Linked DNA regions of Homo sapiens: regions 1, 3 and 4 are each linked to region 2. Evidence: promoter capture Hi-C in human tissues and cell types (Jung and others, 2019). All regions are on one chromosome and are shown on one strand. Each heading gives the region's core, a stretch centred on a gene start or on the middle of the fragment in contact. The rest is flanking DNA. Distances are from core to core; before and after follow the strand shown. Region 1 overlaps RAD9B (RAD9 checkpoint clamp component B). Region 2 holds the start of CCDC63 (coiled-coil domain containing 63). Region 3 overlaps FAM216A (family with sequence similarity 216 member A). Region 4 overlaps RAD9B (RAD9 checkpoint clamp component B).

Region 1 (3,497 bases), core at 616-3,115, 340 kb after region 2:
CAGGAGAATGGCGTGAACCCAGGAGGCGGAGCTTGCAGTGAGCTGAGATCGCACCACTGCACTCCAGCCTGGGCGACAGAACCAGACTCCGTCTTAAAAAAATTAAAATAAAAAAATTAGCCAGGTATGGTGGCACGCTCCTGTGATCCCAGCTACTCTGGAGGCTGAGGTAGGAGGATCACCTGAGTCTGGGAAGTCAAGGCTGCAGTGAGCCAAGATCACGCCACTGCACTCCATCCTGCTCCATCCTGGGTGACAGAGTGAGACTTTGTTTCAAAAAAAAGAAAAGAAAAGAAAAGAAGCTGCACCCTGGATCAAACCATGGCGGTGGCTCATGCCTGTAATCCCAGCACTCTGGGAGGCCAAGGCAGGAGAATTGCTTGAGCCCAGGAGTTTGAGACCAGCCTGGGCAACATGACGAGACCCTGACTCTACAAAAATTAAGAACAAAAACAAAAACAACCATGCCTGTGACTTAATTTTGAATTTTTTGTTTACATGAGCCAATACTTTATTTTTTAAGCTAGTTTGAGTTGGACCGTCTGTTTTTATTTGTTACTTGTAACCTAAGGCATAGTATCATATAACTACCCTATAAAAACCATTAAATAATTAACCAATCACAAATACTTACTGGACATGACTCAAGTAAGCTACTTGAGAGATACTGAATACCAAGTATTCACTTTCTGTCTAAAATCTAGTTGGAGATAAGGAAAGAGGATAATTATAGTAACAGCAATCACTAACAAGTACTCCCCCTGGGGCAGGTACTGCGGTATGTACTTTACATATGTGATCTCACTTCATCCTCACAATCACCCCGTAACTTGTGGGTAGGCATGATCATCTCCACTTCACAGTAAGGAATGAAGATTCAGAGAGCTTATGCACTGTCCCAAAACTAATAAGTGGAGAAGAATTTACACGCACATCTTTGTGATGTCAAGGCTTGCTATGCTTTTAATCATGCTCTTTGAATCATTCTGCTATTAAATGAACTGAAGTTCAAAGAAGGAAAAAATAATGTTAAATTATTAGTATTTTATAGGAAACAATTTAAAGACTATAAATATATGCTGAAATAAAAATATATTATAATAAATGTAAGATTAAATTAAGAAATACAGCCAGGCGCGGTAGTTCACACCTGCAATCCCAGCACTTTGGGAGGTCAAGGCCGGCAGATCATCTGAGGTCAGGAGTTTCAGACCTGCCTGACCAACATGGTAAAACCCCATCTCTACTAAAAATACAAAATTAGCCGGGCATGGTGAAGCATGCCTGTAATCCTAGCTACTCAGCAGGCTGAGGCAGGAGAATTGCTTGAACCCAGGAGGTAGAGGTTGCAGTGAGCCAAGATCATGCCATTGCACTCCAGCCTGGGCAACAAGAGCGAAACTCCATCTCAAAATGAATATATATATGTATATATGTTATACATTATGTATATAATATTATGTATATATGTATACATAATATGTATTATGTATATATTATACATATATAATACATATATATTTAATACATATATTATGTATTATATTTAATACATATATTATGTATTATATTTAATACATATATTATGTATTATATTTAATACATATATATTATACTTAATACGTGTTATATATTATATTTAATACATATATATTATATATTATATTTAATACATATATTATATATTATATATAATACATATATTATATATAATACATATTATATATATAATATACATATATATAATCAAGCAGCTAGTAAATTTTAGAACAACCAATTGCTTGAATTCATACGGATATTTGAAAAAAATTAGGCTGTATGCAGGCAAAGCTTGTGCCACTGACAAGTCAAAAAAAGAAATAATACCGATCATCTTACAATACTTCTACAGTGACAGGTAAGATAATACTTCAGGCCAGGTGCAGTGGCTCATGCCTGGCTCAGGCCAGGTGCAGTGGCTCATCCCAGCACTTTGGGAGGCCGAGGCAGGTGGGCAGATCACCTGAGGTCAGGAGTTCGAGATCAGCCTGGCCAACACGGTGAAACCCCGTCTCTACTAAAAATACAAAAATTAGCTGGGCATGATGGCAGGTGCCTGTAATCCCAGCTACTTGGGAGGCTGAGGCGGGAGAACTGCTTGAACCCACGAGGTGGAGGTCGCAGTGAGCTGAGATGGCGGCATTGCACTCCAGCCTTGGCGACAGAGCAAGACTCCATCTCAAAAAAAAAAAAAAGGATAATACTTCAAACTGCCCTACCACTTAACTACACACACTCTAAGCAATAATGTAACGAGAAATCTTGACATGAAATATCAATGTTCTAAACATGAAAACTATTGAGAAAAAAACATAGTATTTTAAACCACTTTTAATTATACCTACCATGTCTGTAGAAGAATTGAATAACTACTTTGCATTTATCAGATCTGGTGAATATTCTGCACTTCTCTATATTTCTTTCAAGGGAATTCAGACATCTAAAGATGGGCAAAATTGACTGTAACAGAAATATACATATTAAGCACATACTTAACATGGTTGATTCATTTTAGAAACAAAAGTATATGCATTCATAAATGAACAGACTTGGCCAGGCGCGGTGGCTCACGCCTGTAATCCCAGCACTTTGGGAGGCCGAGGCGGGCGGATCACGAGGTCAGGAGATCGAGACCATCCTGGCTAACACAGTGAAACCCCGTCTCTACTAAAAATAGAAAAAATTAGCCAGGCGTAGTGGCGGGCGCCTGTAGTCCCAGCTACTCGGGAGGCTGAGGCAGGAGAATGGCGTGAACCCGGGAGGCAGAGCTTGCAGTGAGCCGAGATTGTGCCACCGCACTCCAGCCTGGGCGACAAAGCGAGACTCCGTCTCAAAAAAAAAATGAACAGACTTGGCCAGGTGCACTGGCTCACGCCTGTAATCCCAGCACTTTGGGAGGCCGAGGTGGGCAGATCACTTGAGGTCAGGAGTTCAAGACCAGCCTGGCCAACATGGCGAAACCCTCATCTCTATTAAAAACACAAAAATTAGCCAGGCATGGTGGCACACGCCTATAATCCCAGCTACTTGGGAGGCTGAGGCACAAAAATCACTTGAAACTGGGAGGCAGAGGTTGCAGTGAGCCAAGATTGCACCACTGCACTCCAGCCTGGGTAAGAAAGCGAGACTCTGTCTCAAAAATAATAATAATAATGAACAGATTTGTCCTGAATGCCATTTAAACTATTAAGTATAGAATACAGGTTATGTCCTATATAATGAATATTTCTACAGAATAAGAGAAAACCAGGGCCACTTATATTTACCTTCATTCCCAATTTGCATTTTAAATGCAGTGTTGTGTCAAGTTCATTTTCACTCATTTTCACTAAAGCTGACCATTGATAATGCTGAAAAAACACAGGAGAGAACAGGACACATCCATATGCTGACCGAGAAGAATTCACACATCTTAGAGCAAGCTAGAAAAATAAGATAAAAACTATTTAGGAGAGGTT
Region 2 (3,613 bases), core at 924-3,423:
GGGTGATAGGAAAATAGTGGCTGGTAATGTAGGAACCTCTGGATTTTCCCTGATGTTTTTGAGGGTTTGGGGGCCAACTGAATTGTCTGATGTTGGGAAATTCCCACAGGCAGGGAAGTGGTATAAGACAATGGTTCTGTATCTTGATCATTTCTGGAAGGGTCCTCCAGGTAGGAGTAGAAGCTGTAGGAGGATTTACCTGACTAACAAGGTTTGGGCACAGGATGCTCTCTCTGGGACCTCTTTCAGCCCTGGAATTTGGGGCAGCTCCAATTTCATATTGTCCAGGAGCTGTTCTATGTTCCAGGGCCCTTTGGGTCCTAAGTGGATTTGTAATGCACCATCTTAATAACATGAACTGGGTATATCTGACCTTCACTGACAGTGTGATTTGACCTCTCTGAGCTTCAGTTTCCTCATCTGTAGAATGGGGATACCCACACCCATATCTCAGCGCAAAATAATGTCTGTAAAGTGGTTAGCATAGTGCCTAGCTCATGACAGACGCTGGGCGAACGTAGCCTGTTTGTGAAGTGGGATTTTCAAGTACCAGTCTGTCTGGCCCATGAGATCATTGGCTGGGTTATGCACCATTCTCCAGGAACCAAAAGCTCCATCACCTCCTGCCTTTTTGCTGATCCATATGCGCATACATAGTCACTCTCCCCTAGGGTGCTGGCTTCTCTTCAGGTTCCAGATGTTAACCCAGGCCTTTCCCTTTCGATCAGTGCCCTCTGGGATGGGCTCCTACATTCCCTGGGGAACAGATCCACCCCCTCACCCCCATCCTCATAGCTTGGCCTGCAGAGCATCTCCTGGATGTCCTGACCCCTGGCTTACCACCCTCTCATTCAAGGGTCTGAAACTCATAGTCCATGGGGCCAATTCAACCTACCTCCAGTTCTGTTCCACAGTGTTTCAAAACATAAATGTGGGTCATGCACTCACTCTCCTGGCCACAGGCCCCACTCCTCCCTATTGGCTAAGCTCCCCTCCCCACAATTCTCACATTTTCTGTAACTGCCTAGAGCCAGTAGGAATTTGAATTTGCAGTTCCTGTTAGGAATCTAAAAGCTGCCCACTTCTGGGGAACAGCGTGTGCGAGGAAAAGTGCAGAGAAGCCCAGCAGCCCAGGTCAGGGGACGTCAGGCAAGGGCCTCCTGCCCCTTGGGCCTCAGTCTATTCACCACAGCATCCATAGTCCTGGGCGCATGGGCAGCTCTTGGCAAATACAGTTTGAATGAATGAAGTTTCCTCCAGGCAGAGATCATCTTCATTTATCTAATATCTAATTAGGCCTGCACCTCATCTGCTTCTGAATTTTAACAACCTGCCTTTAAAAGACAAGCCTGCCCCCGAAGGATTCCCTAGGGACCTTGGGACAGGCAGCTATGTGGATCATATTGAGCCAGGGCTGCACAACCTGGAATTAAACATGTGCTTAGGGCACTAGCCAAACAGGAGCACAGAAACACATACACAGTTTTTTGTTGTTGTTGTTGTTTTTCTTGTTTTTTGTTTGTTTGTTTTGTTTTTTGTTTTTTAAGGATTATTATGGGAGGAAAATAAAAATTTGTTGAACTTTTTTTTTTTCCTTTTTTGAGAGCGTCTCTCTCTCTCTCTGTCACCCAGGCTAGCGTGCAGTGGTTCAATCTCGGCTCACTGCAGCCTCAACCTTCCCGGGCTTAAGCGATCCTCCCCCTTCAGCCTCCCAAGAAGCTGGGACTACAGGTGGCACCACCACGCCCGGCTAAGTTTTTAAATATTTTGTAAAGACGAATTTGCCCGAGCTGGTCTCGAACCCCTGGGCTCAAGCGATCCTCTTGCCTCAGCCTCCCAAAGTGCTAGAATTACAGGCATGAGCCACCTCGCGCGGCTCTGGAGTTATTTTACACACTACAATTTATTTATGCATGATTGCGGGAGACCCTGATACTTTCAACGCTTAGGGCAGCGAGATATGAATGGACTGGGGACCGCGACCGCTCTTTCCTTTTCCCTGGCAGGGGGAGCTGTGGCGCAGCAGGCGCGGCCGGGCGGGCGGCGAAACTTACCAGTGGCGGGGCCCGGACTGCTTGTCCGTGGCTGCTCCGGCCGCTTGTCCGACGGCTGCTGCAACTGCGCTTCCGACGGTGCCGGGAGGACTGCTTGCTGCGCGGCCTCGCTGCGCCACACCCCCAGCCCCACGCCCGGGCGTTCTGGGACCCCTGGAACGGGCGCCTTTGTGACTCGCACAAACATGGACGTTCTCCCCTGCAAGTCCGCTGGGAGGGCACAGGGCCCTCGGGAGGAGAGGACAAGAGCAGCTGGTTGGAGGGAAGCTTTTGGTTGGGGGAGAGGGGCGACACACTCTCCAGCGACCCCTTACCAGACTACCCGGACCCTCATGACGCTAAGTGACTTCTTGAGTCAATCAACAGTCTTAGCCCCTCCCTCGGCCAACGCCATGCAATCGCTGGTCCACCTCGCCCCACTCACACCCCATTCACCGTCTTCTTAGCCTACACCTACACTCATGCTCACAGCAGCCCTGCTAGGTACAGACTTCACACGCAGCTAACTCAAAGGAGCCCAGTTTTTTCTACTCTGAAAAATAAAATAAAGTAAAAATAAATTAAAAAAAAATGTTGGGGCGGGGGGGGAAAGAGATATTTCATGAGAAAAATAACTTCATCAGTGCAGGAGAATTTTCTTCAGAACATCCACCTGACCCCCACCCACTGTGAGCATAACACGGGAACCCAAGTGTGATCCAGGCAAGTGAGCTTTTCACTGCCCTAACGGAGTTTAGTGGTTTAAAGATACACATTTTTCATACAATCGGCCCTGAAACACAAGTCAACTACTTTCTCTGGGGCTAAGCTCTAGAAACAATCACAGAATTAATGGAAAATTATTGGGGGTACCTGTTTTCTACAGTAATTTTGATTCCATGTGATTTCCACTTTAACTCCTAGCCCCCTGAGTGGATTGTAGTAGCTCAGCCCTGCTAAGGTCTCCACTTCATCCGTAAATTCTTGGGACAGGATGTGTGTTTTAGAACTTACCATATTTTGGAGGCCAGGTGCGCTGGCTCATGCCTATAATCCTAGCACTTTGGGAGGCTGAGGCAGGTAGATCATTTAAGGTCAGGAGCTCAAGACCAGCCTGGCCAACATGGTGAAACCCTGTGTATTTCTTTTTTTTTTTTTTTTTTTTTTGTATTTCTACTAAAAATATAACAAATTTAGCCCGGCATGGTGGCACACACCCGGTGGGTGCCTGTAGTCTCTGCTACTCGGGAGGCTAGGGCAGGAGAATTGCTTGAACCCAGGAGGCAAAGGTTGCCGTGAGCCAAGATCACACTCACTCCAGCCTGGGTGACAGAGTGAGACTCCGTTTCAAAAAAAAAAAAAAGAACTTACCATGTTTTTGGTTTCAGAAAGATAATATGGTACGCAAGGGAGTATGTTGCCCCTAATGTTGCTGGCAGCCACGTTGTAACCATGAGGGAAGTCAGTGGGACAGTATATTACATACAGGGTTCGGGCCACACAGTCCAGATCAAACGAATTACTGTTTCTGCAAGGAAACATCAATATTCATGTCAAGTAAGATAAGGATAGATTATGAA
Region 3 (3,649 bases), core at 81-2,580, 370 kb after region 2:
AGAGTGAGACTCTGTCTCAAAAAAAAAAAAAGTATATAGTTAGTTGAATTCAATAAGCACATTTTTGTTTCAATATTATTAATAACAGGCTATTTCAGTTTTGTATTAAACTTTAAATTTAGTTATTTCTTCAAGATTTTGGCAAGTTGGATACTACAGGTAAGGACTAACTAGTTGACCAAGAAATGGAAAATCATTTGGAAATTGTATTATGACCCTTGAAACATAACTTATAATCTGTAATAATATGAATGCCAATTTAAGATTTTTAAAAGTTTTTTGTTTTGGAAATCCTTTTTCAAGTTGTAAACAGAGGCTATTTATATAAGAATATGAATTGTGTCCTTAATAAACAATATTTCTGAGATGCATATTATATTTTGGACCAACACTTAATTTCTCAATAGCTTGATAACATTTCTTTACAGAAAATGAAGCACTTAAAAATAAATAGGCTGGGCATGGTGGCTCATGCCTGTATAACCCCAGTACCTTGGGAGGCTGAGGCAGGCAGATCACCTGAGGTTGGGAGTCGAGACCAAGCCTGGGCAACATGGTGAAACCCGTCTCTACTAAAAAAAAAAAAAAACCACACACACAAAATACTTAGCCAGGCATGGTGTCACACCCCTGTAATCCCAGCTACTTGGGAGGCTGAGGCAGAAGAATCACTTGAACCTGGCAGGCAGAGGTTGCAGTGAGCTGAGTTACTGCAACTGCACTCCAGCCTGGGTGACAGAGTGAGACTGACTCAAAAGAAAAAGAAAAATAGTATGGCAGTGCCTCGAACATTTAAACATAGAATTGCCATATAATCTAATAATTCCACTTCTGATCCAGCAATTCCAAAAGAACTGAAAGCAGGGACTCAAACAGATTATTTATCCATGCTCATAGCAGCATTACTTCATAATAGCCAAAAAGTGGAAGAAACCCAAGTATCCATCAACAGGTGAATATATAAACAAAATGTGGTATATACAAACAATGGAATATTATTTAGCTTTAAAAAAATAAGAGAATTCAGACACATGGTACAATATGGATGAACCCTGAAGACATGCTAAGTGAAATAAGCCAGTCACAAAGGACAAATATTGTATGATTTAACTTTTATGAGATACCTAGGAAAATCAAATATATACGGAGTGAAAGAATGGAGGTTGCAAGAGGTCAGGGGAAAGGAGGTATATAGGGAATTAGTGGTTTTTTATTTTGTTTTTAAATTTTCTTTTAGAGACAAAAAAAACTAAAGTTAATTTTATGTTGCCCAGGCTGGTCTCAAACTCCTGGGCTCCAGCGATCCTCCAGCCCTAGCCTCCCAAAGTGCTGGGATTACACACACGAGCCACTGCACCCACCTGAGAGTTAGTGTTTTATAGGTACGGAGTTTTAGTTTGGGAAGATGAAAACTTTCTGGAAATGGATGGTGGTAGTGGTTGCACAACAGTGTGAATATACTTAATGCCACTGAAATGTACACTTAAAAATGATTAAAATGGGCCAGGTGCATTGGCTCATGCCTATACATCCCAGCACTTTGGGAGGCTGAGGCGGGCAGATCACTTGAGTCCAGGAGTTTGAGACCAGCCTGGCCTACATGGTGAAACCCTTAGGCTGGGCGTGGTGGCTCACACCTTTAATCCCAGCACTTTGGGAGGCCGAGGCGGGCGGATCACGAGGTCAGGAGATCGAGACCATCCTGGCTAACATGGTGAAACCCCGTCTCTAGAAAAATATAAAAAAATTAGCCAAGCATGGTGGCAGGCGCCTGTAGTCCCAGCTACTCAGGAGGCTGAGGCAGGAGAATGGCGTGAACCCGGGAGGTGGAGCTTGCAGTGAGCCAAGATCGTGCCACTGCACTCCGGACTGGGCAACAGAGTGAGACTCCATCTCAAAAAAAAAAAAAAAAAAAAAAAAAAAATTAGCTAGGCGTGGTGGGGGTGCACCTGTAATCCCAGCTACTCAGGAGGCTGAGGCAGGAGAATCGCTTGAACTCAGGAGGCAGCGGTTGCAGTGAGCCGAGATCGAGCCATTGCACTCCAGCCTGGGCAACAAGAGCGAAACTCCATCTCAAAGAAAAAAAAAAAGATTAAAATAGTAAATTTTATATTATGTATATTTTACCACAAATAAATAGTTAACCAACCCAAGAACTTTTGAATATACTGCTTGGACTATATGCCCTCAAACAAAAACAACTCTAAGCAAATACTGATCTCTAATTAACTACTAGGCTTTTTTTTGTTGTTTTGTTTTTTGTTTTTTTTGGGTTTTTTTTTAGATGGAGCCTTGCTCTGTCGCCAGGCTGGAGTGCAGTGGCGCGATCTCTGCTCACTGCAACCTCCAACTCCCTGGTTCAAGTGATTCTCCTGCCTCAGTCTCCCAAGTAGCTGGGATTACAGACACGCGCCACCATGCCCAGCTAATTTTTTGTATTTTTAGTAGAGACGGGGTTTCATCATGTTGGCCAGAATGGTCTCAATCTCCTGACCTCGTGATCCACCTACCTCAGCCTTCCAAAGTGCTGGAATTACAGGCGTGAGCCACTGCGCCCAGCCTACTAGGCTTCTTTTTTTTTTTTTTCAGAAGCATGTGTTAGCACTTTAGAAACTACTTTTTTATACATCTTAGGACGAAGCAAATAATATATTGTAGTTAATAAGCAGGTCTCACACTTTTGGAGACGAGTTACCTATTAATATGGAAAGAGGAAAGCACAGAATAAACCCTGTTTGTTGGATTGGAATTTGGAGTTAGTAGAAATATTGAAATAGATATGTATGGGTATGTATGTGCTCACAGGTAAATGCACACACATTTCTTTCCCAGCACTGTCCTCGGAGAAAGTCTAGAAGCAATGAAAGTATATTATAAATAAGCACACCTAGCACCCAGATCTTGGTTTCTACGTACTCTTCTCTACTTTAAATATATAATTTTTTTTTTTTTTTGAGACAGAGTCTCGCTCTGTTGCCCAGGCTCACTGCAAGCTCCGCCTCCCAGGTTCACGCCATTCTCCTGCCTCAGCCTCCCGAGTAGCTGGGACTACAGGCGCCAGCCACGACGCCCGGCTAATTTTTTGTATTTTTAGTAGAGACGGGGGTTTCACCGTGTTAGCCAGGATGGTCTCGATCTCTTAACCTCGTGATCCACCCGCCTCGGCCTCCCAAAGTGCTGGGATTACAGACGTGAGCCACCGCGCCCGGCCTTAAATATATACAATTTTTTAAAAAGGGGCTCTATGTTAGTTTCATTTTGCTGCCATAACAACACAACTTTAGCGGCTTAAAACAACACTCACGTATTGACTCATAGTTCTATAGCTCAAAAGACTGAGTATAACATGAATCCACTGGGTTCTCTGCTTAGAATCTCACAAGGCCAAAATCAAGGCATCGGGGTGCCTGGGCTGGACTGGGGTGCCTGGAGCCTGTAGTGGTTCATTCAGGTTGTTGGCAGAATTCAGTTCCTTACAAAACCAAAGTCCCTATTTCCTTGACATGTGGCTCTCTTCATCTTCAAGCCAACAATGGGGTGTTAAGATCTCTCCTTTCACATCTAACTGCTTCTCTTCCCCACATCTGTCTGACTTCAGCCAGAGAAACTCCTCTGCCTTGGGCTAGGCTGGGCCCACCCAGAAAATTCA
Region 4 (3,718 bases), core at 785-3,284, 320 kb after region 2:
TTCAAGCCACTAAATTTGTGGCAATTTGTTAAAGGGTCATTGGGAAACTAACATACTGATCTGGCCATAATTGGAGGCATGGTTTCTTTTCTTTTTTTTTTTTTTTTGAGATGGAGTCTCGTTCTGTCGCCTAGGCTGGAGTGCGGTGGCATGATCTCAGCTCACTGCAAGCTCCGCCTCCTGGGTTCATGCCATTCTCCTGCCTCAGCCTCCCAAGTAGCTGGGACTACAGGCGCCCGCCACCACACCCAGCTAGTTTTTTGTATTTTTAGTAGAGATGGGGTTTCACCGTGTTAGCTAGGATGGTCTTGATCTCCTGACCTCGTGATCTGCCTGTCTCGGTCTCCCAAAGTGCTGGGATTACAGGCATGAGCCACCGTGCCCGACCAATTGGAGGCATGGTTTCAATTGCCTCTAAAGAGTCTAGTCTTCACCAAGGTCAAGAACCTAAGGCTAGAAAAGACCTAAATACAGCACCTGTGTCTGTTCAGTGTATATCATCACGTGCAAATAGCTCTTGATAATGTTTGTGGTGCTATATGAGACTTGAAAGCTGAGGTTTTCTTTAATCTTTGAGAGCTGCCCTGAATTTGCTACTGGCTTAGAGTAAATGCTATTTGCTACCCTCCCTTGTCCCCACCTTCAGCCTGTAAGTCTCATATGGCTGGATAATGGGGCCCTTCTCCATGTCTAGTAATCTAATGGAGGAAGCTTGAGAACACCCATGCAACTAGAAATTAACTTCAAGTCTAATATGAGTTGGGTAGGAAGAGAATTATAAAATCTTTTTTTTTTTACTAATATACATATTGTCCCTATTTTGATGCCCCTGAGAGCTGTGTATAACTTCTAGTTTAAACTTAATAAAAAATCCACAGCAGGCCAGGCGGGGTGGCTCATGCCTGTAATCCCAGACTTTGGGAGGCCAAGGCAGGTGGATCACCTGAGGTCAGGTGTCCGAGACCAGCCTGGCCAACACAGTGAAACCCTGGCTCTACCAAAAAAATACAAAAATTAGCTGGGCGTGGCCAGGTGCAGTGGCTCACGCCTGTAATCCCAGCACTTTGGGAGGCCAAGGCGGGTGGATCACGAGGTCAGGAGTTCAAGACCAGCCTGGCCAAGATGGTGAAACCCTGTCTCTACTAAAAACTACAAAAATTAGCCAGGTGTGGTGACAGGCGCCTGTAATCTCAGCTACTCGAGAGGCTGAGGTAGGAGAATCACTTGAACCCGAGTGGCAGAGGTTGCAGTGAGCCAAGATCATGCCACTGCACTCCAGCCTAGGCAACAGAGTGAGACATAGTATCAAAGTATCTCTCCACAAAATACTTACCAGTTGCTAAAAGAAAAACAGTAACTATATAGTAGAGAGCCGGCAGACACCACCTTGACCATATGATGGAAATTAACACCACCAATATGGAGAAAAACCAACCTGTGCCTCCAGATACGATGTACAAAGAGAACCCAACATTATTACTCTGTTGAATTCTTACCAAAAATACATAGTTTAAATTGAATCATGAGGAAACACAGAAAAAACCCAAAGTTAGGACATTCTACTAAAATGTCAAAGTAAAGGACAAAGCGGGCTGGGTGCAGTGGCTCATACCTGTAATCCCAGCACTTTGGGAAGCCAAGGAGGGCGGATCACTTGAGGTCAGGAGTTTGAGACCAGCCTGGGCAACATGGTGAAACCCCGTCTCTACTAAAAATACAAAAACTGGCCAGACACAGTGGCTCACACCTGTAACCCCAGCACTTTGGGAGGCCAAGGCGAGTGGATCACCTGAGGTCGGGAGATCGAGACCATCCTGGCCAACATGGTAAAACCCCGTCTCTACTAAAAAAAATACAAAAAAATTAGCTGGGCGTGGTGGTAGGCACCTGTATTCCCAGCTACTCAGGAGGCTGAGGCAGGAGAATCACTTGAACCCGGGAGGTGGAGGTTGCAGTGAACCAGATTGCACCACTGCAATCTAGCCTGGGCGAAAATGAAACTCCGTCTAAAAAAAACCAAATAAATAAAAAGAAGAAAGTCTTAAAGGCAGAGTAATAATCAAAATATTTGAAGTGATTATCTCTTATTTGTATTTTCTGATTTTTGTTCAATGAAATGATCATTGTACTGTTATACTGAATATTAAATGTGGAGGCCAGGCACAGTGACTCATGCCTGTAATCCCAGCATTTTGGGAGGCCAAGGCAGGCAGATCACTTGAGGCCAGAAGTTTGAGACCAGCCTGGCCAACCATATCTGGCTAATTTTTGTATTCGCAGTAGAGACGGGGTTTCACCATGTTGGCCAGGATGGTCTCGATCTCTTGACCTTGTGATCTGCCCACCTCGGCCTCCCAAAATGCTGGGATTACAGGCATGAGCCACCACGCCGGCCAATCTAAGAGTTTTAAAAGCAAGAGAGTGATAAGTAACAACAATAATTTTTTTCTTTTTGAGACGGAGTCTTGCTCTGTCGCCCAGGCTAGAGTGCAATGGCACGATCTCAGCTCACTGCAATCTCCGCCTCCCGGATTCAAGCAATTCTCCTGCCTCAGCCTCCTGAGTAGCTGGGATTACAGGCGCCCGCCACCATGCCCAGCTTATTTTTGTATTTTTAGTAGAGACAGGGTTTCACCAATCTTGGCCAGGCTGGTCTTGAACTCCTGACCTCGTGATCTGCCCGCCTCTGCCTCCCAAAGTGCTGGGATTACAGGCATGAGACACTGTGCCCAGCCAATAACTAAATTTTATCAAGCACTGACCATGTGCCTGTTGCATCTTTAGCTCAATCTTTACAATTCCATTTAGTGGGCATAATTATTATTACCCCCATTTTACTAAGGAAACTGAAGGCAAAATAAATAACTTGTCCAAGTTACGCAGTTAATACGTGGTAAGAGAGAGGTTTGAACCTTGGCATTTGAACTCTAGAGCCAGGGCTCTGAACCCCTGGGCCTCACTGTAGACCTCAGGTTTGGACAAAAATCTATGAGTACACTGTGGAAGAGAAGCAGGGTGAAGGAGAACAGAGGCACAGAGGATGGCAGGAAGCCCATGGAATTTCAGGCAGAACATGATAAGGGTCTACATCATTTACCCATAATGTAATTTCAGCTTTGCAGGAGTTTGCCACATTAAGGCAAATAATTCCCTTTAAAAATAGAGCCTTCTTTCAAGAATTTGGTGACACAATAGGAAATTTGGAGTAAAGAGTGCTGTAATGGTGCTCATGGAGATTAAAGTTCTAAATGTCATTTTCTCTAGCAAAGAAACTGGCAATCTTAGTGAATTTCAGGGACCTGAAGCAGCAGGAAGATGATTCCTGTTGTTGCCTGTGAAAAAGTAAGTACAATATGTGTGACTAGAAAAATAGGAGGGGACAATGCTTTTGTACAATGAGAACACAGATTTCAGTTTTCATTTTATGGCCAACTTAGTAACATACAGGAAGAGAAAATTGCCCTAAGTGTTGGGAATATAACAAGTACTCAATAAACACCTATGGTATCAAACTAAGTCCAGTTTACTAATCAAATTCTGCCCTAAAAGTCATATACAGCGTAATATGGTGAATTTTTTATTTTTTTAAGAAACAGTGTCTCACTCTGTTGCCCAGGCTGGAGTGCAGTTGTGCGATCATAGCTCACTGAAGCCTTGAACTACTGGGCTCAAGAGATCCTCCCACTTCAACCTCCTCAGCAGCTAGGTCTACAGCCAC

What was found. The method cuts DNA at HindIII sites, captures the fragments that hold promoters and counts their contacts. A contact is called where the count stands out against the background at its distance.
Region 1: a fragment that was not itself captured here is called in contact with the fragment with the promoter of CCDC63 in region 2 in 3 of the 25 tissues and cell types used here (dorsolateral prefrontal cortex, lymphoblastoid cells and spleen).
Region 3: a fragment that was not itself captured here is called in contact with the fragment with the promoter of CCDC63 in region 2 in 1 of the 25 tissues and cell types used here (spleen).
Region 4: a fragment that was not itself captured here is called in contact with the fragment with the promoter of CCDC63 in region 2 in 1 of the 25 tissues and cell types used here (spleen).

The regions. Positions count from the first base shown.
Region 1 is chr12:110,505,581-110,509,077 of GRCh38, reverse strand. RAD9B (RAD9 checkpoint clamp component B) reads right to left here. Exons shown (of 11, transcript NM_001286535.2): 3 at 3,306-3,461; 4 at 2,385-2,499. Among named protein-coding and RNA genes, the nearest start is that of RAD9B, 5.0 kb to the right of the region's middle. The HindIII fragment of the contact is 8,113 bases long and covers 1-3,497 here.
Region 2 is chr12:110,845,547-110,849,159 of GRCh38, reverse strand. It overlaps CCDC63 (coiled-coil domain containing 63), which reads right to left and starts at 2,173. Exons shown (of 12, transcript NM_152591.3): 1 at 2,055-2,173. The HindIII fragment of the contact is 19,678 bases long and covers 1-3,613 here.
Region 3 is chr12:110,478,469-110,482,117 of GRCh38, reverse strand. All of the region lies in intron 2 of FAM216A (family with sequence similarity 216 member A), which reads right to left. The region is part of intron 1 of LOC124903016 (a long non-coding RNA gene); the gene reads left to right. Among named protein-coding and RNA genes, the nearest start is that of FAM216A, 11 kb to the right of the region's middle. The HindIII fragment of the contact is 7,273 bases long and covers 1-3,649 here.
Region 4 is chr12:110,523,298-110,527,015 of GRCh38, reverse strand. The region is part of intron 10 of RAD9B (RAD9 checkpoint clamp component B); the gene reads right to left. Among named protein-coding and RNA genes, the nearest start is that of RAD9B, 23 kb to the right of the region's middle. The HindIII fragment of the contact is 3,993 bases long and covers 38-3,718 here.